Linked DNA regions of Homo sapiens: regions 1, 2, 3 and 5 are each linked to region 4. The links are contacts of gene promoters, found by promoter capture Hi-C in human tissues and cell types (Jung and others, 2019). All regions are on one chromosome and are shown on one strand. The core of a region is centred on a gene start or on the middle of the fragment in contact, and the rest is flanking DNA. Distances in the headings are between cores, read along the strand shown.

The links. The method cuts DNA at HindIII sites, captures the fragments that hold promoters and counts their contacts. A contact is called where the count stands out against the background at its distance.
Region 1: a fragment that was not itself captured here is called in contact with the fragment with the promoter of LZTS3 in region 4 in 2 of the 25 tissues and cell types used here (IMR-90 fibroblasts and hippocampus).
Region 2: a contact is called between a fragment that was not itself captured here and the fragment with the promoter of LZTS3 in region 4, in 2 of the 25 tissues and cell types used here (dorsolateral prefrontal cortex and hippocampus).
Region 3: a fragment that was not itself captured here is called in contact with the fragment with the promoter of LZTS3 in region 4 in 3 of the 25 tissues and cell types used here (H1 embryonic stem cells, dorsolateral prefrontal cortex and mesendoderm cells).
Region 5: the fragment with the promoter of GNRH2 here is called in contact with the fragment with the promoter of LZTS3 in region 4 in 5 of the 25 tissues and cell types used here (IMR-90 fibroblasts, dorsolateral prefrontal cortex, heart left ventricle and 2 more).

What each region holds. Positions count from the first base shown.
Region 1 is chr20:3,375,307-3,380,023 of GRCh38, forward strand. It overlaps DNAAF9 (dynein axonemal assembly factor 9), which reads right to left. Exons shown (of 37, transcript NM_001009984.3): 4 at 872-996. Among named protein-coding and RNA genes, the nearest start is that of DNAAF9, 30 kb to the right of the region's middle. The HindIII fragment of the contact is 5,967 bases long and covers 1-4,717 here.
Region 2 is chr20:3,323,700-3,328,380 of GRCh38, forward strand. DNAAF9 (dynein axonemal assembly factor 9) reads right to left here. Exons shown (of 37, transcript NM_001009984.3): 13 at 2,498-2,585; 14 at 1,193-1,269. Among named protein-coding and RNA genes, the nearest start is that of DNAAF9, 82 kb to the right of the region's middle. The HindIII fragment of the contact is 9,834 bases long and covers 1-4,681 here.
Region 3 is chr20:3,306,371-3,311,346 of GRCh38, forward strand. The region is part of intron 20 of DNAAF9 (dynein axonemal assembly factor 9); the gene reads right to left. Among named protein-coding and RNA genes, the nearest start is that of SLC4A11, 70 kb to the left of the region's middle. The HindIII fragment of the contact is 8,715 bases long and covers 1-4,976 here.
Region 4 is chr20:3,171,870-3,176,449 of GRCh38, forward strand. LZTS3 (leucine zipper tumor suppressor family member 3) reads right to left here and starts at 1,680. Exons shown (of 5, transcript NM_001365618.1): 1 at 1,586-1,680. LOC107985414 (a long non-coding RNA gene) reads left to right here and starts at 1,821. Exons shown (of 2, transcript XR_001754477.2): 1 at 1,821-2,321. RefSeq lists a silencer at 1,564-1,903. The HindIII fragment of the contact is 8,589 bases long and covers 1-4,580 here.
Region 5 is chr20:3,040,318-3,044,884 of GRCh38, forward strand. It overlaps GNRH2 (gonadotropin releasing hormone 2), which reads left to right and starts at 3,305. Exons shown (of 4, transcript NM_178331.2): 1 at 3,305-3,348; 2 at 4,091-4,251; 3 at 4,383-4,519. The coding sequence starts at 4,098. The HindIII fragment of the contact is 17,170 bases long and covers 168-4,567 here.

The DNA.
Region 1 (4,717 bases), core at 1,640-4,139, 200 kb after region 4:
TATTTCATATTATACCCAAAAATCAACTGAAATGGATCAGGAAACCTAAATGCAAGAGATAACACTTTTCCCCCAAAAAATTCCGCCAAATACTCATATGGGAGGAAGTGTTCTTGACCAGTATCAGGTCACAACTTTCATGAAATCCTAAATCTCAAATCCAAACTTGATTTCCAGTCAAACCCCTGAAAAGGGCCCAAAGGGAAAGAAAAACAGATACCAAGACATTCAAACACAGGAATGTCAGAAAGCTTAAAAAATTCTCCCAGGGAGCCAGGCATGGTGGCTCACGCCTGTAATCCCAGAACTTTGGGAGGCTGAGGTGGGCGGATCACCTAAAGTCAGGAGTTTGAGACCAGTCTGACCAATGTAACAAAACTCCGTCTCTACTAAAAATACAAAAATTAGCCAGGTGCCTGTTGTCCCAGCTACTCGGGAGGCTGAGACAGGAGAATTGCTTGAACCTGGGAGGTCGAGGTTGCAGTGAGCCGAGACTGTGCCACTGCACTCCAGCCTGGGCGACAGAGTGAGACTCCGTCCCAGAAAAAAAAAAAAATCCCAGGGCAGTCCCTAGGCACTAATCCCCTAAGAGATGGGATTCAGGATGGTGATGAAGAAGCAGGCAAAAAGTTAAGTTCATAAACTTACCACTAGGTCCCAATTTGAACAGCCTCCTTTTGTCTCCACAGGCATACAATTTATCTATAAGGTAGCCTCAAAACGAAATATGAAATTCTCCACTTCAAACAGATAATCTTTTTTATATAGTCACACTCTGCAATTTGATTGCTGATCCTATTTCAGATCAACACTTTCCTTAAAGAGTATTCTTAGAGTGTCTCTAGGTGCCTGTCTTCTCTTTTCTTCTTACCTCATTTTCGGTCATGCAGTGGAAATGCAGATTTCTCCAATGTGCCACATAAGGTAAGAGATAGCGAAAGTTTACAGGATTACAGTACAGATGGACGCTATCCGATTTAATCAATATAATTACATCTGTAAGAAAAACAAAATCAAAACACAAGACTGTCAAACACATTTCTTTTAGATATTTTCTGCCCACATAATTAGTAAAACCATTGAAACTACTTCAGAGACAATGTAACAAAACTCTAAACTGAAAATTATTTAATTAAGCACTGTGCCTTGTAAACCAAAAAGTATCTGAGACAAGTCTCAATCAATTTTGAAGTTTATTTTGCCAAGTTTAAGGACATGCCTGTGACATACCCTCAGGAGGTCCTGAGAACATGTACCCAAAATGGCTGGATAACAGCTTGATTTTAGACTTTTTAGGGAAACAGAAGTTACCAGCAGACATCAACCAACACATGTAAAGTGTACATTTGGTTTGGTCCAGAAAGTCGGGGTCAGGAGTGAAAGGGTCCTTTCGTGTCATATAGGTGGATTCAAAGATTTTCTGACTGGCAATTGGTTGAAAGAGTTAAGTTTTATTACCTAAAGATCTGGAATCAGGGCTGGGCACGGTGGCTCACGCCTGTAATCCCAGCACTTTGGGAGGCTGAGGCGGATGGATCACGAGGTCAGGAGTTTGAGACCAGCCTGACCAACATGGTGAAACCCCGTCTCTACTAAAAACAAAAACACAAAAATTAGCCGGGTGTGGTGGCGCGCACCTGTAATCCCAGCTACTCAGGAGGCTGAGGCAGGAGAGTCATTTGAACCTGGGAGGCAGAGGTTGCAGTGAGCTGAGATTGCACCACTGCACTCCAGACTGGGCGACAGAGTGAGACTCCGTCTCAAAAAATAAAAATAAAAATAAATACAGACCTGGAATCAACAGAATGTCTGGGCTAAGATAAGCGGTTGTGGAGACCAAGGTTCTTATTATGCAAGTAAAGCCTCCAGGTAGCAGGCTTCAGAAACAATAGAAGGTAAATGTTTATCAGACTTAAAAAGGTACCAGATTCTTAGTTGATCTCCCCTGGATCAGGAAAAGACCTGGAAAGTGAAAGGGATTCTCTACAGAATGTAGATTTCTCTGACAAGAGACAGCTTTGCAGCACCATTTAAAAATATGTCAAAGGAGTATATTTTGGGATAAAATACTTAGATTTCTTTCAGGGTCTGCTATCTGCTATGTGATGTACCTTACTGCTATACAACAGCAATTTGGTTGGTCTTAAGATCTGTTTTCTTTCTTTTTTTTTTTTTGACAGGGTTTCACTCTGTCACCCAGGCTGGAGTGCAGTGGCATGATATAGGTTCACTGCAACCTCTGTCTCCCAGGCTCAATCCTCCTGCCTCAGCCCCACAAGAAGCTGGGGCTACAGGTGAGCGCCACCATGCCTGGCTAATTTTTATTTTTTTTTTGTAGAGACAGGGTTTTGCCATGTTGCCCAGGCTGGTCTCGAACTCCTAAGCTCAAGTGATCCAGTCACCTTGGCCTTGAAGTGCTAGGATTATAGGTGTGAGCCACTGCACCTGGCCAAGATCTCTGTTTTAATGTTAATGTTGGTCAGTTATGCCTGAATTCCAAAAGGAAGAGGACATAATGAGGCACTGCCAACCTCCACTTCCTATCCTGGCTTGAACTCGTTTTTCAAGTTTACTTTGGAATGCCCTTGGCCAACAAGGGGGTCCATTCAATTGGTTGGAGGGCTTAGAATTTTATTTTTGGTTTACAGCTTCAAAGTGACTTTAGAACTTTCAAATGTTGACAGCAAGAATTTCCTAGTCCCCAAACAATACTCCCCCTACCATGGCCCTCTGGGTCTGGCAATGCAGTTGCAGAACGAGTCAAAGAACAGCCTCCATCTACTGAGGCATAGTGTTCACATAGTCACATCTATGGGACCAGACATAGCTGAGTACTTCACTGCAGAGGTCAATACCATATGGAAACCCCACAGCCTAAGGCCACTGAGGCAGGGAAACAGCACCAAATATGGCCAGTGACTAGTTGTCCCTCAGACATCAGTGTCTAAAGCTCTCAGCTGTTGGCTCATCTGGCTCTAAGGCAACTGCAGGCCCAACGATACTGCTTGTCCCTTTAGGAAGAGTTATTGTGTGCAGTGGTGAGCTTTGTACGCAGGAAAGACTGGGAGGAAGGAAGTAGAGGCCAGTGGAAAGAGCTTCTATAAATAGATCAGCAGCTTACAGATTTAAGGAATAGTCTTCAATGCTCATGGGTGAAGTAAATAAAGCAATCCCAAGAATGCAAATAAACCTAGGTAAATGGAAGAGCCATGGGATGGAGTAGAATATTAAAGCAGTTTGACAACTGAGGACAAAGGCAGTCATACTTCCAGAAGAAAACCAGAGGCCCCATTCTATGGCTCCTCAGAAACAAGAGCCATTAGGCCTCCTAACAAGATGGAACTAGATGCTGTCAGAGGTAAGAAAGGCACACGCATAGGGGCAGAGAACACCTGATGCAGCAGGTGTAGGACAACGTCAAAAGGGTAATACAGTGTGACAGACCACACCTGACAAAAACATCTTATAAGCCCAATAAATACTGACCACATCTGACCACACAGCTGAGTGGCCTCCTGAAATAAAACTCCATGGGTCTGACCTTTTAAGCCACTCTAAGCCCCATGCCTGTAAGGCCCAGGGTGTTCCAGGGAACACAGGATGTAGCAGCCTCATCACTATTGACTCTTTAGGTAAGCACAAGAGTCAAAGGGTAGCAAAAGGTGGAATGGAGGCCCCTCTCATCTCTCAGCATATTGGTCCTTCTCACACACTCCCTCCAAGAGCCCTTCCCTGAGTCATTCGTAGACCACCTGCAGAGGAATGAGAGTTGGCTATTACCTGAAGACTGAGGGCTTCTGGTGTGTATTATACTCTACAGTAAAATGTAACATGCCTCAAAGAATTAGGATCCCGTAAGAGACATAACATAGTAGTTACTAAACCTAAAGTAAGCATTCCCCAAATCTCTTAGAACTCTGGTGTTATCACTATGAACCAAAGTTTAACAGAGTTTACAGTCAGGTAAAAGAGGAAAGCATATGAGAATGGGATGAATACGTAACCTATTTAAAAGCTGCTTTTAGGCTGGTGCGGTGGCTCATGCCTATAATCCCAACACTGTGAGGCCAAGGCAAGCGGAGTTCAAGACCAGCCTGGCCAACATGGTGAAATCCCTTTCCTACTAAAAATACAAAAATTAGCCAGGCATGGTGGCGGGTGCCTGTAATCCCAGCTGCTCGGGAGGCTGAGGCAGGAGACTCCACCAGGAGGCAGAGGCTGCAGTGAGCCAATATCACACCACTGCACTCCAGCCTGGGTGATAGAGCGAGACTCTGTCTCAAAATAAATAAATAAATAAAAGTTGCTTTTAGAAGTAAATTCATGTTGGCCTTTCCCCCTCTCATATGAGATCAAAATGTAGAAATTTGGTGATCTCTGCTTTCCAACTACTTGTATAAACAAATTTATTAATTTGTAGGAAAATGCTCATTTCCTAGGCACCCACTGTGCCAGGTAAAAAGATAAAAACAGGCCAGGCGTGGTGGCTCACAGCTGTAATCTCAGCACTTTGGGAGGCCAAGGCGGGATCACCTGAGGTCAGGAGTTCGAGACCAGCCTGGCCAACATGGTGAAACCCTGTCTCTACTAAAAATTCAAAAATTAGCTGGGCATGGTGGTGCATGCCTGTAATCCCGGCTACTCGGGAGGCTGAGGCAGAGGAATCTCGAACCCAGGAGGTGGAGGATGCAGTGAGCCAAGATCGCACAACTGCACT
Region 2 (4,681 bases), core at 50-2,549, 150 kb after region 4:
ACACCTAGGCCTAGGAGGCCTTGGGACTGAGAGGGGGCCTGCTCTGGGGAGGCTGAGTGGCCTAGGCAAGGGCCCAAGTAAAGGAGAAGTAGAATGACTATGCCAGCCATATTGATGGTAAGAGAATACCCCACTGTGACAGCAGCTAACATCTATGTGCCCAACTGCTTTACAAGGTGGGTAGCTGAAGGAGCAGATACAGACAGTTCCTATCTTGCCCAAGGTCACACAGATGCAAACTGAAGAAGCGTTCTCAAATTCAGGTTGGCCAGAAACAGATAGCACAGGGCAGCACAAGGTCTTAAGGGAACAAACTTCCTTTATCCTTTCCCTTTCATGGCCAGGGCAGCAAGATCCAGAAGACCCAGGGGAAAGAAGACCTGAAGCAAGTCTAAAGCCCTGCACCACAGAGTTCTGGCTCTTTCTTCCACTCCTGGGGCTGCAGAAATAGAATTCTTTTTGTTAGACCAATTAATTGACTAATCTTTCAAATACTCTCTCTTATTACACAGGACTATAGATTTAAGAAAATGTGGGACATAGACCTGAGGCATCACAGGACACATCCTAGAAGTATTCTTAAATAAATTCCCCAGTATTGGTGTCTTTTGTATCCTTTGTATAAAAGTGCACATAATGGTCCTCACGTGAAACAGTGGTTAAGTGGACTGGGTTCATGAAGATTTAGCTATGGATAACAACCACCGTGACATGCTGGGAGATGTGATGGAAAAATCACCAGATTCTCAGATGATGCAGACCCCAGGACACGGCCAGGCTCAGGGTTTCTGTCATTCAAGAGACAGATGAGGCCCAGTGCAAGTTTCTTCTAAGCAGTGACTATCTTCCTGTGCCCAGGGCCCTCTGCCCCTAGAAACCTCACCATTCAGGTACCCAGCTTTGCCTTTCTAGCCTTGGAACCCAGGCTTGTCAAATCTCCTGTGATGCTGGTGTTAATCTGCCCTGCATTCTAACCTCAGAACATGTGTGTGACTTTCTCAAACAGTTCCTGCATCTTTGGCTCTTTGGCTTCTAAGTGAAGGCTGAATCATGAATGATTCTCCTTCACACATCCCATTATTTTACTGAAACATTTCTCAAAGGGGAGATGAAATCTAAATTATAAGGGAAAAAAGAATATTCCAAAACGAAGAAAAAAAATTCCTTATAAAAAATATCAGCCATTGCTTACCGCAGGGCTGCCTTAAACGGAATCAACTCAAAGGAATCTAACCCAGATCCCAGAGTTTGCTCTGCTACCTCCTTGGCCTGTAAAATAATAAGACAGCGACAATTAGCTTTCACAGCAGGAAAAAGTACACATATCACTGATGGAAGGGCCCTCCTAACACTTGTCCAGGATCACACCATGCCCTACAGTGTGTCCTTCCCATCTATGTGACTACTTGGTAGGCATGAATAGATTAAAGTGAAAGTATCATGTTAAGGGAAAGAAGGGCCTGCTTTCTCCAGGCTAGGTTTACAGGACAAAACTGCATTCAGGCAGGTGTGCACTGGAACCTGACGTGCTGGATCCAGAGAAGTGACCAGCTGTGATGACAGCAGTGGAATGTGAGGTCTGTAAAAGTGCTTTCTCCTCCCCTCTTCCTTGGCTCTTGGGAAGGAACCTCTGCCCTCAGAGTTTTAGCCAGATGCTAAGAATATCCAAATAGCAAGAGTTACAAAAGATCAGTTAAAAAACAAAGATGTGAGAACTGATATTGAAGGACACCCCACTGCTTTGGATAAGCCTTCTGCATGTAGTGGCTAAAGGGCTGAGAAATCCGGAGTCAGTACCAGGGATACAAGTTCAGTGAGGAGGGGAGATGGCAAGGAGCTGGTGACTACAGCTACAGTCTCTCTGATATCTACATCATACACAACCTTTCCAATGTCAAATGGCTTCCTTCAGAAAAGGTCCTATTGGCATTTGGGAGGCATCAAGCTGACTCTTCTCATCTCCTTACTGGGTCAGATATAGGAATCCAACTCAGCAGGGCAGGTTAACCGCAAAACAGCAAGGAAGATAATGGTCAGAGAACGGGAACACATGTGCTTGTCTAGGAAAAGCAAGTCAGATTTTCTAATCTTTAGCTATTTTTTTTAAACACTGAGTTATAGGAAATCAAACTTACCAAACTTTATTAGATTTCACAGTAGAATAATCTAAAGTTGTCTTTTTGGTTTTTTTTTTTTAGCTTTTAAAAGACTTTTGTTTAAGCTATTCAACAAAACAATGTGCTACAGAATGATTTTTCCTTAACACAACCAGATGTCTACAAAGAAGCACCGATTAGTTGTCATCCATAAGACAACAGCAGCACAGTCACAGGCAGCAGAAGCTCAGTGCTCTCAGGGCTTCTCTCTGCCTGGTGTCAAAGAGGCCCAAGCTCGCACAAAAGTGAGTACTACAAGATGTCCAAAGAAGAAACACATGGATAGAATGTTTTACATTAAAATAATAATTACAGAAAGGGAAACATGGTATTTAAATTACCTTTGTTAGACTGGAAGTTTTAGCATAACATGCAATGCCAGCCAAAACAGCCTCAATAACAGCAGCATATATCTGGGACAATAGCCTACTTTAAAAACAAAAAATAATGGTTAACATTACAGCATCATGAGGTTTTTGTCAAAAGATGCATGCACATAAATGACAGCCCCTAAGAAACTGATTTTTAAACAGAATGAAAAAAGGCAAAAATATAACCCACTGATTTCTAAACCTTTTAAAAGTCACATGCCTGGGCCAGGCATAGTGGCTCAGGCTTGTAATCCCAGCACTTTGGGAGGCTGAGATGGGCAGATCGCTTGAGCCCAGGAATTTGAGACCAGCCTGGGCAACATGACTTAACCCCATCTCGACAAAAAATAAAAATAAATAAAAATAAAATTATCCAGAAATGGTGGTGTGTGCCTGTATTCTCAGCTATTTAGGAGCCTGAGGCTGGAGGATCACTTGAGCCTGGGAGGCAGAAGAGGCTGCAGTGAGCCAAGACTGTGTCACTGTACTCCAGCCTGGGTGACAGAGTGGGACCCTGTCTCAAAAAAAAAAAAAAAAAAGTCATATCCCTGGTTTGACTTATACTTTGCTTTTGTTAAATCACCTTAAGGAAAGTCGGCTCCTCTGAATTCTGCTCAAGAGACTGCCCCTCCCTGTTTGTAACCAAACAGAATAAAACTGTGTAGACTCCTTGACTCCTCTATGTGCAGGAACAGCTACCTACAGAGCAGGAATTCCTTCAGTGTTCTCATACCCACTTGCTGCTTTCCCAGGGACCAATCATACTGTAGTTTCATATCGTCTTTTCACTAGACCTGCTGAAGGCTGGTCTATTACTGGAACCTCCGGGTAGGAGACCTCAGCGGGAGAAGAGAGATGACCAGACTGAGGAAGGGCTGGGTTTTTCTCTGCCAGAATGGACTGCCACGAAGGTCCCTAGAAAAACCAGTCTGGTTCATTTCAGGGAACCACCTAAGGTGGTTTTTCCACCTTGGCATTTAGGACTGGATAATTCTTTGCTGTGGGGGTTTGTCCTGTGCATTGTAGGATGTTCGGCAGCACCCCTGGCTGCTAACCAGCATCCCTACCCACTAGATGTTGGTAGCATTCCAGTTGTGATAATCAAAAATTTCTCCAGACCCTGCCAAATGTTCCTGGGAGTGGGGAAAGATGGGGGAGGGAGGTACAATAGAATTGCCCTTGGTTGAGAACCACTGCCTTGGAGGAAGGAGGTGCAGGCTCTTCTTAGGACACTTACGAAGAGAAGGGGCTCATCCAAGGGTCCCTGAAAGGCCAGGAGAGGCATCTGGCAAGGAACTGACAAGGTCTCACCTAAAAATGTGTCTATTTTTAAGCCCATAAGAATCTTGTAAAGGAATCAGGTAAAGGAAGGTGATAGGAGTTTGAAAGTGGGAAAAAACACAGAAATGATTTGGTCTAATCCTCTCATCTTATAGAAGAAGCAATAAGGGCCTCTGGAAGTGGAATATGTTGTCTATTAAGTCACAGAAAATTCATGGCTGACCCAAACTCAGATCTGCTCTCAGCCTGGTGCTTTTCCACTGTGCCACATCACATTGCCACCTCCTTCAATTTCCTCCTTGGCTCCTGCACCACATGCAGGACATGACATGTCAGCTCCAAGTATCAACATATCCTGAAGACTTCTGGCCAGGCAAGGGCAGGGCAGAGGGTATACCCTGGAAGGGGCCTGGCAGAGAGATGTGAATGAGCTTGGCCCCTTCCAGGTGAGACCAGAATCCTCTACACTTTGACACTAAGGGTGCATTTAAAGATGCCAAACCCAAAGACATGCAAAGATATCCCCCTCCTCAGCTGATTCAAACATCACTCGGTACCAACACTGGTCAGGCCTTCCCCTTGCTTGGTCTTCTCCTATACTGATCCTTACATAGGAGATCAATACACAAGCCACATGGCCGCTGACCCATAAAATTAAAAAGCCTGCATGGCTCTGTTTTTTTTTTTTTTTTGAGATGGAGTCTTGCTCTGTCACCCAGGCTAGAGTACACTGGTGCGACCTCAGCTCACTGCAACCTCTGCCTCCCGGGTTCAAGCGATTTTCCTGCCTCAGCCTCCTGAGTAGCTGTGATTACAGGCGCCTGCCACCGTGCCTGGCTAGTTTTTGTATTTTTAGTAGAGGCGGGGTTTCAC
Region 3 (4,976 bases), core at 1,212-3,711, 140 kb after region 4:
CCTCTGGGACAGGACTTAACCTTTAATCTTTGTTCTGTTAAAAGAAAGGAATGGGAACAGGTTTCACGCAGTATTTACTAAGCACCACACATGTCATACATTATAGTTTTCTGTTTTCACAATTGTAACAGGTGGTATTATTTTTTCTCATAGGACAGATGAGAAAACTCAAGCTTAGAGAGATTTCCCCCAAAATCACAGCATTACTTGGTGGTGGAGCCAGGTACAGAACACAGGTTTGTCTGATGCCAAAGACACTATACCATGCTGGTGCCTTCAGTTCTCTCATGTTTTTTTTCTTTCAATTCTCCCCTGTCCAAAGCCCAGCTGTGGTGAATCTGTAGATGTGCCTTCTCTGCTCCCTCAACCACAACAGGCCACAGTGCTGCCCCGTAGCCTGTTCACTGCTGTCTCCCCACTCCTTCCATCAGCCCACAGAGCTCATCCCAGACCTTCAACACTCTCCTAAAACCACAACCCCACCAACTCCTGCCACAAGATGACTCTACTTACTGTTTCCAGAGATAAGAGGGCTCCATAGGTGTCACGAGGTAGAAACTGCTCCTGCTGCTGAGTGGTTAGTACCTGCACCCTTCCCTGTCCTGGGTATCCCTCTACATTTGTACTTTTGAAGTGAACCTTTTTAGAAACAAGTCCAGTGCCACTTGAAAGGCCTCCTGGACAAAGCTCAAAATCCTGAAGCTTCCAGAAAAAAGCACAGATTGGAGAAGCTGGCACATTCCATTTACTCAATAGGAAGATGGGAAAGGATGAGCGAGGTCATCTCCAGCATTTCCTCTCCCACTAGACTCTGAAGCCTCAAAACAAAATGGAAAAGAGGAAGACAAATTCACAAGACAGTGCTGGAAGAGCTCATTATGGGGCATGAGCCAAGGCAAGGTCTCAGTAAACAGGATCTGATTTCAGTACTGTCCTGTGATCTGTCCTGTGATCGCAGCTGCCCCTTAGCCTGGCTCTATGAGCAGTAACTCTGCCATTATTCTCAGAGCACACATGAGATAAGTGAAGTGACTTACTGGGTGGCCCAGTGCCTGTGCTCTGGTCTCAGATCCTCATCTGCTTGAAGCAATAACCCTTCTGGTATCTGCTCTGGACTCTTGACTGTCAGACAGTGGTCTGAGGGCCATACCTTTGCAGGGGTTCACAGGGGCCAGGGCAGCCAACTCCTGAGGAGATCTCCCTGACTCTTTGTGCCATCCTTGGTGTCCTTAGTGGATGAACTCTGTCCTTCCTTCTCCATTCTGTAAGTCTGAAAACCCAGGATAAGAGGAAGTTTCCCATTATTGTCCCAAAACCAGGAGGACTGCAGTTTGGTTGTCTTTGATTGAGCTCTGTATCCCTGGAAGTCCAACAAAAGAGGGATGGGCCCTCAGGGTAAACCAAAATACCAAGCAAATGCCAAAGAAGAATTTCGCTTTCCTCTTTCAGAAAACTGGCTGTACAAATAAAAATCTTCCAACAGCCCAGTCTATGTGAGGAGGGAACATTTATCACTGCTGGGGAAATTTATGATGCAATGGCTAGATGATTTTCATCCTGTGTCTATAAATGTGTGTGAAATGTACACACAAGGTTTAAAAAAAAAAAAAAAAAAAAACTAAAGCAACAACTACAAAACCCAGATGTCTATGAACTCACCACTGGGCCTAAGAAATTGAGCATTACTAGCACCGTTGAAACCCCCTGGATGTCCTTCCTCAATGAGAGCCCTTCTCTTCCACCCAGGGGGAACAGCATCCTGAATTCTGGATGGTTTTACCACACTTGAATGTATTTGTAAACTGTGTATTACTTAGTTTTGTCTGTGTTTTTATATAAATGAAATCCTAATCATGTATTCTTCTGTGACTTGCTTACTTCTCCTGACATTCTGTTCCTGAATGTGACCTATGTTACAAGTAATATGCAGCTATACAGTTCCTTCATGCTCAGTGCTGTACAAAACTTTACTTTTTTTTTTTTTTTTTTTGAGATGGAGTCTCACTCTGTTGCCTTGGCTGGAGTGCAGTGGTGCCATCTCTGCTCACTGCAATCTCCGCCTCCCAGGTTCAAGTGATTCTTGTGCCTCAGCCTCCCAAGTAGCTGGGATTACAGGCATGCGCCACCACGGTCCAGCTAATTTTTGTATTTTTAGTAGAGATGGGGTTTCACCACGCTGGCCAGGCTAGTCTCGAACTCCTGACCTCAGGTGACCTGCCCGCCTCGGCCTTCCAAAGTGCTGGGATTACAGGTGTGAGCCACCGTGCCAGACCAAAACCTTCATTTTTAAAGTGTCCCTCCAGCCAGGTGCGGTGGCTCCCTCCAGCCAGGTACAGTGGCTCACGCCTGTAATCCCAGCACTTTGGGAGACTGAGGTGGGAGCTTCACGTGAGGCCTGGAGTTTGAGACCAGCCTAGCCAACATGGTGAAACTCCATCTCTACTAAAAAAAAAAAAAAATTAGCCAGGTGTGGTGCCACATGCCCACATGACTCCTCCTCCATGCATACATGGTAGGGGCTAAGCTCTCTGGTAGCTCTTATAAGGGCACCACATCCCAACAGACCTTGTCCCACATTCATGACCTCATCTAACCCCTATTTCCTTCCAAAAGCCCCATCTCCAGATAACATCACTTTTGGGGTTAAGGCTTCAACACTGGAATTTTGGAGAGGACACAAACATTCAGTCTCTAATGTGATAAGGCAAGTTCCCACCTTGTTTTTCTTCTTCAGGAGTATCTTGGCTGTTCTTAGCACTTTGCTCAAAGTTATTGACATTTTTATGTTGGCTTTTCAGGATTTTCAAAAAACTTGTTGGTTTTTTTTTTCCTGAAATTATGTTAAATTTAAAGATCACTTTGGAGAGAATTGTCATTTTTACCATGTCAAGTAAGTAAACCTGAGTTTTCCAGTCCATGAATGGGATGTGTGTTTATGTCATTTTTAATGCCTTTTAGTATAGTGTTATAATTTTCTCAGCCTCCAGACTGTGAGAAATAAATTCCTACTGTTAATCCACTCACTCTGTGGTATTTTGTTATGGCATCCCAAGCAGACTAAGTCACCATATAGAAATATGTTATCTATCTAAAATAAGACAATGTGTTATTTTCTTTCCCAATGGAACAGAACAGAGAGCCTATTAATAGATGCACACATAAAGAGACTTGATTTATAACAAAGCTGGCACTGCCGATCAGTGGGAAAACAATGATTTTTCAATAACTTTGCTGAGACAGGTGGCTACCTACATTTAAAAAATGAACTTAGACTTCTATCTCATATCACTTTCACAGAGCAATCCAGGTGGATTCTTTGAAAAATTATATTTTTATAATTCAACAGAAAAGTCTCAATAGATCTAAAATATATGAATCACATAGGAAATGATTAATTATCCTGATTACATTAAAACTAAGAACTTTTATTCATGAAAAAGCATCAGAAATAAAATAAAAAGACAAGCCACCAGGTGAAAGAAAATATTTGCAATATACTGAATTGACAAAGAATTAGTATCCAAAATCTATAAAGAATTCCTGGCTGGGCGCAGTGGCTCACGTGTAATCCCAGAACTTTGGGAGGCTGTGGCAGGCAGATCACCTGAAGTCGGGAGATTGAGACCAGCCTGACCGACATAGAGAAACCCTACCTCTACTAAAAACACAAAATTAGCCGGGCATGGTGGTGCATGTCTGTAATCCCAGCTACTCGGGAGGCTGAGGCAGGGGAATCGCTTAAACCTGGGAGGCAGAGGTTGCAGTGAGCCAAGATCGTGCCATTGCACTCTAGCCCAGGCAACAAGAGTGAAACTCCATCAAGAAAGAAAAGAAAGATGAACAAACGAACTAATGATCGAGAGAAAGAGAGAGAAACAGAGAGAGAGAGAGAGAAAGAAAGAGAAAGAAAGGAAAGAAAGAAAAGAAAAAAGAAAAGGAAAGAAAGAAAGGAAAGAGAAAGAAAAAGAAAGAAAGAAAGAAAGAAAGAAAGAAAGAAAGAAAGAAAGAAAGAAAGAAAGAATTCCTAAAATAGGCCAGGCGCAGTGGGTCACGCCTGTAATCCCAGCACTTTGAGAGGCCGAGGTGGGCAGATGACCTGAGGTCAGGAGTTCAAGACCAGCTTGGCCAACATGGCGAAACCCCGTCTCTATTAAAAATACAAAAATTAGCTGGGCCTGATGGTGCACGCCTGTAGTCCCAGCTACTCGGGAGGCTGAGGCATGAGAATTGCTTGAACCTGGGAGGTAGAGGCTGCAGTGAGCTGAGATTGCGCCACTGCACTCCAGCCTGGACAACAGAGTGAGACTTAGTCTCAAGAAAAAAAAAAAAATTCCTAAAATAAACAAGAAAAAGGCAATCTAAAAGAAACATGAGCAAAAAACAAGAACAAGCATTTAACAGAAGGGAAGTATAATAGCTTGGCCAATAAATAAAGACGGTTCACTAATAATAAGAGAAATGTAAATTAAAATCCTAATAATAACAGCACTGCACACTCACCACAGTGGCAAAACTGGCAAAACAGCAAGTGTTGGCCAGAATATGGAAAAACTCAAATACCTGTATGCTGCTGCTGGAAGTATAATTTGGGACAATCAATTTGTAAAACAGTCTGGCCTCATCAAAAAAAGCCATATGTGGGCTCATACTAAAATTCCAAATTTTTACTCTTCATTCCAACCCTACAGAAACATTTGCCCATGTGGACCAAGAGACATGCACAAGAATGCTCATAACAGTACAGTCTGCAATACCAAAAAAAGCCTATATTTACTTATTTATTTTTTAGAGTTAGGGTCTTGCTCTGTCAACCAGGCTGGAGTACAGTGGTGAGATCATAGCTTACTGCAGCCTTGAACTCCTGGGCTCAAGCCACCCTCCAGTCTCAGCCTTCCAAGTAGATGGGACTACAGGAATATGCCACCATGCCTGGCTAATTTTTTTTTTTTGGGTAGAGATGGGGTCTCACTGGTCTT
Region 4 (4,580 bases), core at 430-2,929:
CTCAGCCCTCAGTGCCTGGGGCATTATACACAGTATTAGCGTCATGAGGGGGCCAAACGGACTCTACCTGACAGTTACATGTACAGGTACCTCCAACCCACCCCTCAACCTGTGTCTCTCCCAAAGCTAGGAACACTTGGGGTCTCAGAGGCCCCAACCCCAGCCCATTCTATCTCCTAAAAATCTCTAGCCAGCCCCTCCATCCAGCACCCCTGCTGGGGGCTCCTCAATGGACTTTCTTCTCCTGCACTCCCTCCCCCAGGCAGCTGCCAGGGGATTCCTTCTAAAGGGCAAAGCTGATCTTGCCCCTGCTCTGTCCAAATCCTTCCATGAGCAAGACCAAGTGCAGTAGACAGAGTTCTGGCAGCATCAGCTCCAAGTGTAAATCCCAGCTTGACTGATTAGGGGTGCAACCTCATGCAGGTTATTTCACCTCGGGTTCTCACACCTACATTGCAGGCATTTTAAGAAGTAAATGTATGATGGGTGAAATGCCTGGTATTCCTCTTGGTCCCCAGAACCAGAGCAGAGCTTGCAGCAGGGTCCCCAAGGACTCTCCTGATGCCCCTCCTCTATCTACCCTGACCTGAGCCCCTCTCTACTTCACACACAAGCTCTTGCCAGCTCTCTGTGCCCATCCTACATGCTTCTAGACCAGTTCAAAGGCTGGCCTCAGGACAGCATCCCTGATCTCCACCCCCCAGAGGGGGCATCTTGGAGCACTTGGCTGAGGACACCCCAGGGAGATTTCACTCTGAGGCCTCCCCAGGGCTGGCCTATAGGTTTCCCAGGAGCACAGAGGGCAGAGTCCTGGGGGTCTCTGGGCCCTGCACCAAGGAAATGCAGGGCAAATGCCTGTGGGAATGCTAGTTATGGGCAATGCAAAGAGGCAGTGAATCCGGGCAGGGAGAGCAGGAGGGGTTTCCAGGAAGCAGGACTGAGGGAGGAAAGGGATCTGGGGGCACTGCAGGGCTTTTGGGGTGCAGAGATATCCAGAACTTCTTGGTTGGGATGAGTGAGGGGAGATCCGTCTTCCCTCGGTGGCCTAAGCACTGGCAGCGGAATGGGCCCATCACCTAGCTACTGGCTCTGATGAAGCCAGTGTTTCAGGACTGAGGGGGCCGAGAGCGCCCCCTCCACCCCGAGCACACACACGCGCGCACACACGAGCTTCTGCTGGGGGTGGGAGGGGGGGTCGCCATTCACCAGCAGCCCACGGCCCGCAGAGCCAACTGATAGAGACCCCAGCCACAGGCCACAGGACCTGGGAGTCCCTGCGATGGGGGAAACCCCGCCCGCACCTCCCCAGGCTCCCCACCAACGCGTGTGGCCCCGGGGGGCGGGGCGCAGAGGGAAGAGGTGACATAATCCGAGCCGCACCCCCTCTGGCCGCCACCTCCCCCCAGGCCGGGCGAAGCATCCATGACATCATCCGCCTCCTCTCCGCTCCCCTCCCCCTTGGGACCCTAGCAGCGGGACGCGCCCCCTACCCAGTCCGGGTCAGGTCAGACATGCCGCGCAGTGCAGCAGGCACGGCGGCAGGTCGGAGCCGGGAGGGATGCCACGATGGGCCTGCCTCACTTACTCGCTGCCTCAGGGTCCGGCGCGGGGTCTCCGACACGGGCGCCACCGGCCCCGCTTGCTGGCGCAGCCCGAAGCACGCCCGGCGGGGCGCGCTGCGCGGGCCCGGCTCCGCTCCGCGCCCCTCCTGCTCCCCGCCCGAGCCCCGCCCACCAGCGGCTGCGGCAAACGCGAGCCCGCCCTCCGGCCACGCCCCCCAGGGCAGCCAATGCCCGGGCTGGGGCGGGGTGAGGCGCCTTAACCCCTTCGTCGCTGCGCCCCGCCCGCGCGTGGGACCCCTCAGCCTCACCCTCTCTAGGGCGCAGCAAGTCCGCCGCGAGCCCCTCTGCTCATCGCTCGTTACCCCCCAGGCCCTTGGGCTTGGGCTCAGGCCCAGTCGTTCCTCTGCAACAAATCCAATGGAACCGCGCCCTCCCTGAATCCCACGTCTAGGAAGAGGAGGAGGAGCCCCTCTTGCTTGGGGGAAGGGGCTCCCGACTCGGAGCCCCGAGCCCCATTCCTCTCCCGCGCCAGCTCTTCGGGACGCGGCCTCCCAGCGGACGCCCTGAGACCTTGCAAGTCCGCTAGGGAGGGGTCGGGACGAGCCGTCGCGGGTGGATCCGCCCGGCCGAGCAACGACCCGCCCGGGCGCGAGGACCACGGGCTGTCGTGCGGGAGGCGTCGAGGGGCAGTAAACTCCGTTCGTGACCAAACGGAGACGATTTGAAACTTGCTGCTCACACTGGATCACCGTCTGGAAGGTGCGACGGGGAAAAAATACACATTACACTCCAGCAGGATTGAACGCTTTCACCCTGTGCCCCGCGCCTGGCGTAACGCGTGGCCCCAGACCACACGCTGTAACCCGGGGTGAGAGGGAGTGAGGTGGGACTTCGTACCGGACCCGGAGCGCCGGCCTCGCCCGCGCGGGCAGCGTTCACTGTGGGGAGTGCTCACTCAGCCTAGGGCGGCCCGGGAGGACTGCCGGGAGGAGGGAGTCGGCCTTGAATTGAGGCCTCAGCCTTGAATAGGGTAGGGAGGCAAGCCTAGCCGAGAGTTTAGCACTAGCAAAAGCCTGGAGGCACCAGGGTCTGCCCTAAGAACTGCAGCGCCTCTGCTCTGGCTGGGATTTAACGCATTACGTCTCTGCTGTTTATAGGTGTTGTGTTTGGTCTTACGACTTCGTATTCTATAGTTTTTATTTATTCCTGTTTTCTGAATTTTCCCACATTTGCTTTTATCTTCTATCGTGATTTTCAAGGCAGAAAGTATTTTTAATTCTTCTCGCGGCTGCCTTTAGATTTATCAAATGAAAATAGTTTACATTTCACACATTAGTAAAGTCAGTGACAAATAATTCGTTTTTATATTCCCCCATGAGAAATTTTGTGTGCTTTTCTGCCTCCTACCTGCCGCCCTCACTACTTATATTTGTCCACTTAATCAGGACGACAGACCTAACTTTTGTTTACACTTTTTTTTTAAGCCACAACATTCTTTTTCAATCCTTGTTTTTGGCTTTTGCCAACTCTGTTTAATTGGTTTCAATGTTACTGCCGGTTTTTTGTGCTCTAATTTTTCTATTCCTCATTTGGACCCATCTCTCACATGACTGGTGATTTCAGGGAGGACTCTGGAATGTTGTATTTCCTAAGCCTTTGCCTTAGGTGAGAATGCCTTTATAATGATTTCCTGTTTATAGGATTCTTGAGTCTCAAGCTTTCCCCCTCAAAACTCTTGTCTTTATTTCATTGTCTTCTGGCACTGAAAATGCAAAGCTGGGTTTGTCTGTTTAAGGTCAGCAGTTTGCTTGGTGCTTGCAAGGGTTTTTCTTTACCCTCAAAAGTCAAACATTTTGCCAGTATAAATCAATATGGGCCTTATCTATTAATTTTCCAGAAACAAAAGAGGTCTTCTTTGTAGCTTAGAAAAGTTTTCTTCCTGTCCATTCTGTGAAAAGATTTGGGTTTTTTTCTTTCCTCTCCTCTAAAACTATCACATTGGATCACCAATGTCAAATAAATCTGTTTGTTTTCTCTGCACCCTGGGAGACTATATCAAGTTTTTCTTCACCATTACGGATTTAATTTTCTTCAGAGCCAAGAGTACTGTTTATTTTCTCCAATAAGACATTTGATTCTGCTTGTTTTATTTTTCTTTCAGCCAATTTCCATTCCACCTCTGTCTTGATCTCAACTTAATCTCTCTTTGTAGTCTCCATTCCTATTTCATAGACTAATGTGGTTTTGCATCTTTAAAAGAACACCAGGAAAATAAGAGAATACTATCTATATCTGACTCTGGTCCAATGCATATGAAAACTTTTTTGTTTTTTTGAGACAGAGTCTCACTTAAAATTTACACAAACTCTAGCATAGTGTGTAACTATTGAATGAATAACTAATGCAATCCCCTTCCTTTCTTTCAGAGCAACTATGAACTAGACTTTTTTTTTTTTTTTTTTTTTTTTTTTTTCTGAAATGGAGTCTCCCTCTGGAATGCAATGGTGCAATCTCAGCCCACTGCAACGTTCGCCTCCTGGGTTCAAGCAATTCTCCTGCCTCAGCCTCCTGAGTAGCTGGGATTACAGGCATGTGCCACCACCACGCCGGGCTAATTTTTGTATTTTTAGTAGAGACGGGGTTTCATTATGTTGGTCAGGCTGGTCTCGAACTCCTGACCTTGAGATCCGCCCGCCTCGGCCTCCCAAAGTGCTGAGATTAGACTATTTGTATCTAGGTTCATCAGTTCAGTGAACTAATCAATACTTTGTTTTGTTTTGTTTTGTTGTTGCTTAAGATGATTTGTCACCTGCTGATTAATGATCACACAAGTTGTTTTTTTTTGAGAGAGTCTTGCTCTGTCACCCAGGCTGGAGTGCAGTGGCATGATCTTGGCTCCCTGCAACCTCCGCCTCCCGGGTTTAAGTGCTTCTTTTGCCTCAGTCTCAGTAGCTGGCATTACAGGCGTGCACCATTACACCCAGCTAATTTTTTGTATTTTTAGTAGAGACAGTGTTT
Region 5 (4,567 bases), core at 2,055-4,554, 130 kb before region 4:
GCCTGCCATTGCCAGGGCTGGCCTTCAGCAGGGTGCGCCACCATGGCCTGAGTGGTTTTCTGCTGAAGTCCGTGCTGATTTGGCCAGTGGATAGGCATCACCTGGGTGCAAAACCATTGTCTCCAGGTAGGAATGACCTCAGCTGTTTGCTCCGTGTCTCGCTCAGCCTGTAGATGTGTCCCTCATCCCTTCATGCCTCCCTCTTCACTCCTCTTTTACTTTCTACTCGGGGCTTGCATGTTTACAAGAGAGGTGAACCCAACAGAAACTAGTATAGGCCAAAAGGAAAATGTGCTGAAGCTCACACAGCACAGTCGTGTGGAAAAGGCAGCAGTGACTGCTTCATCCAGTGCCCTTCCCACAGCCAGTCAGTTGCGACCCAAGGGGCTTAGGGTAGGAGTGTTTCTCCATAGGGGAAGAGTAACAGCCTGCACCCACCACACACCCAAAGCCCTACATCCTGCCACACTGAGACCTCACTTCATTTGGGCGGGTCCCTCCTGGGTTGCAGTTTCCTTCATTGCTCCCCTGTCCCAAATACTCAAGTCTCTCTCATTAAAAATAAAGAGCAGGCCAGGTGCAGTGGCTCACACCTGTAATCCCACACTTTGGGAGGCCAAGGCGGGTGGATCACTTGAGCCCAGGATTCGAGACCAACCTGGGCAACATGACAAGATCCTGTCTCTACAAAAAATAACAAAAATCATCTGGGCATGGAGGCACACGCCTGTAGTCCCAGCTACTTGGGAGGCTGAGGTGGAAGGATCACCTGAGCCCATGAGGTGGAGGCTACAGTGAGCTGTGATCATGCCACTGCACTCCAGCCTGGGTCAAAGAGTGAGACCCTGTCTCAAAAAAAAAAAAAAATAGGCCGGGCACAGTGGCTAATGCCTATAATCCCAGCACTTTGGGAGGCCAAGGCGGACGGATCACCTGAGGTCAGGAGTTCGAGACCAGCCTGGCCAACATGGTGAAACCATCTCTACTAAAAATACAAAAATTAGCCGGGCGTGGTGGCACGTGCCTGTAATCCCAGCTACCGGGGAGGCTGAGGCAAGAGAATTGCTGGAACCTGGGAGGCAGAAACTGCAGTGAGCTGAGATCACGCCACTGCACTCCAGCCTGGATGACAGCGAGACTCCATCTCAAAAAAAAAAAAAGAAAAAGAAAAAGAATTAATTAATTAATTAAATAAAGAGCATGTCTCCCACCCCAGGCCTAAGTTCTTCCCTCTATGAGAGACTACTTGCAGAAACCTGTGTTCTCACTCTTCCCCCTTCCTCACTTCATTCCCACACATTTCTTTTCCATCCCTGCGCACCAAGGTCACCTTGGTGCTAAACACCAGGGACCCATGGTCTCTTCCCCTTTGTGTCACAGGCTGTCCTCTGCCTCTTATCCTCACCCTTTAGCTGCTCCTCCACTGTCTCCTCTCTCAGAGGTCAGGATTCTGGATCTGTCTCTGTGGACCCTCAGCTCTCCTCCAATCCCAAGTCCCCCGCATCCTGGTCGCATGTCAGGGTGGTCCAGAGATGCCTGCCTCCCACTGCCCACACCCAGGGGCCCGCCCTCCTTTCCTCTAACCTTCCCACATACTCTGGCCCCATGGATCCACGGCAGTTCCTGCTGGCCCTTCTCCATTTTGTTCCTTATGCTGCACCCCTCTGCTGCCACTCCCTGCGTCCGTGACTCCAGCTCACTCGTCTCTGTCCTTCACCCAGGCCGCCTGCTCAGGGTTTGTGCCTCTCTGTGCTCCTGCAGCACCTGAGTGTTTATTCACCTCTGAACCTCTGCTTTCCCACCTGAGTACACGCAGCTCCTGGCTGCAGTGACTTCATATCCTGAGGACTGGAGCTCCGTGGTGAACAGATGGCTTTCTATGTTCTAATGAGAGGGATACAAGAGTTCCACAGTTCTAGTCTGGAAAGGACCAAACATTTCTTAAAAGCTAAGTATGTTGCCGGAAAAAAAAGGGAGCAGAGCTTTCCCCAGGAAGCTTGGCTCTGGTTTAGATTTTTCAGGAAAAGCCGGAATCAAATTACAGAATAAATAAAGGCAACCATCCCCCTTTTAAAGGTACACCAGCCTTGGTGCATCTTTGAAGAAAGCATTCTGTAAACCCCAACCAGAACTAAACTAGTACGTCGAACTCAGATTCATTTTCACTAAACCACAAGCAAATGTTTCCCTAAAAATCACCCAGTTAACAAAGTCCGCATATTTAAGCCAAAACAATTTAACTGAACAAATGGGCCACACGTTGATTTCCGGTCCCTGCTAATAAGTCAGTCTGGAAGTTCACAGGTGTGCCCATCCTGCCTTGGCTGCTGAAGTCCAGGTGTCTAGGGCTGACTGATGCCCATTATGCCTCCCCTCCCCCATCTTTGTCACAGGATTTGACGCACCAGCTCTCCAAATGACCCTGGCCCTCCCATTTGCTGTTCAGCCCAAGTGCGGAGATTGGCTATGAACCCTGTAAACAGGCCTCTGACCCCCAGAGGCTGATGGCTGGCCAAGGAAAGCTGAGCTGCTGACGCAGACTGGGAAGCAAGAGCCCACTTCCAGCAGCCCAGGCTAGCTGTGTCCAAATCCATGACTGGGGAGGGGTTAGAGCCTTGAGGGACAAAATTATTCTACCTACCTAGGGAGACTGCACTGGCCCAACAGCTGGGCCCCATCTCATGGGCCCGCTTCTTCGCCAGGAGAGAAGCCACTCCGGGGTAGGTACTGCCCCACCCAAACCCAGCCATCTGGAGTGACCCAGCCCTGGTTCCCAGGTGTGTGGATGTGAATTGTCCCACCCAACCCACTCTACAGTGAGCAAACGGAAGCCCTCTGGGAGAGTGGTCACAGCCTCCCCTGTACCTCTGAACAGCCTGCCAGGCTCCCTACTCTTAGGCTTCCACTGTCCACCAGGGAAAGCCCTGAGCTGGGAGTTGGGGAGCCCCCAGGCATTGCCCCTGCCCAGGACACAATTCTCTTTTGGGATCAGGGAAGGCTGTGAGGGCTTTCTAGGTCTCAAGATCAGGAGCTTGAAGATGCAGCCTGGGAAGTGGGAAGGTGAGACCAGGACATAGGCCAGCCTAAAGCAAGAGTCCTGGGCCTGAAGGCTCCTGGGAAGGTGGTGGGGAGGGAGCATGTGTCGGTGGCCTCAGGGCAGCAGCTGCCTGGTGAATGTTCATGGACTGGATGCTCTGGGAAGCGGGTTGGGTGGTGAGCTTCTCTCTTCCCCTCTGAAGACGTCACTGGAGTCTGGGGGTGGAGCTGCCTGGTCTATAAATCCTGGGGCCATCAGGCTAGGGTCCTGCAGCTGCCTGAAGGAGCCATCTCATCCACAGCTCTTCCTTGGTGAGTGGGGAGCCTTCCCTAAGGGCTAGGACACCTGGACCAAGTTTCATCCTGGGCGTATGGTGTGCTGCTCCTCTTCCCCATTCCCAGGTGCCTCCACCCCTGAACCATGCCAGAGAAGTCCCCTTTTCCTCTCCTCTCCCCAACAGCTCTACCATCTATTCTTGTGCTTGTTGCCCCTGGCATGGGAGGGATAAGGGGTAGAAGCACTTGCCCCCATCAATACCACTCATCCATTCCACATCCCCAACTACTATGGAAGAGATACAGCAGGCCACGGAGAAAAGGGCAGAAGGCCTGCAACTCTGGTTCCCTAGCACTGGTGCTCCAAACACGCCTACATTGAGAACTCCCCTGACCATCCATCTATCCTCCCATCCATTGGCCTGAATTCAGGTCTCTGTTCCCCTCCAACTTTCTTCCACTTCTGGAAACTCCTTGAAGGAAAGATGGATGGACCTGGACAAGTGGGAGGGCCCTCAGAGCTGGCAAGGCAGGTAGCCTCTGTGCCCCAGGCTCAGGGAGAAGGCTCGTCCCCTGGAGCATCATCCCCTGCTGGGCCAGGATCCCCCAGGATCTGGACCCCTGTATGCTTGGGATGAGGAGCGGTGGCAGAGAGGGAAGGGCATAAGGAGATACCAAAGCTGCCCCTGAGATGCCAGTTTTCCAAAGTGGCCCTGGAGGAAGTAGGGGGATGTGGGGGTGAGGTAAGTCTCCTTGAATGCTGTACCCTGTCCATTAGAGCAGCCATGGCCAGCTCCAGGCGAGGCCTCCTGCTCCTGCTGCTGCTGACTGCCCACCTTGGACCCTCAGAGGCTCAGCACTGGTCCCATGGCTGGTACCCTGGAGGAAAGCGAGCCCTCAGCTCAGCCCAGGATCCCCAGAATGCCCTTAGGCCCCCAGGTGGGTGTCTCCCAGCCTCATGGGGAGGAAGAAAGTGATGGCCGGGGGCTCCCCCACCCTCCTGGAGCCTGAGGTCGGGGTAGGGAGGACAGCATCAGTTCCCTTCTAAGGAAGGGCCCTGGACACTGCAGCAGGCAGCCCAGTCCAGACTGCCCATGGCCTCCCAAGTGATGCCCTGGCTCCCCTGGACGACAGCATGCCCTGGGAGGGCAGGACCACGGCCCAGTGGTCCCTTCACAGGAAGCGACACCTGGCACGGACACTGCTGGTGAGTAGGGTGAGAGGTCCCCAGCATCAAGACCAGCCACTGGTCATC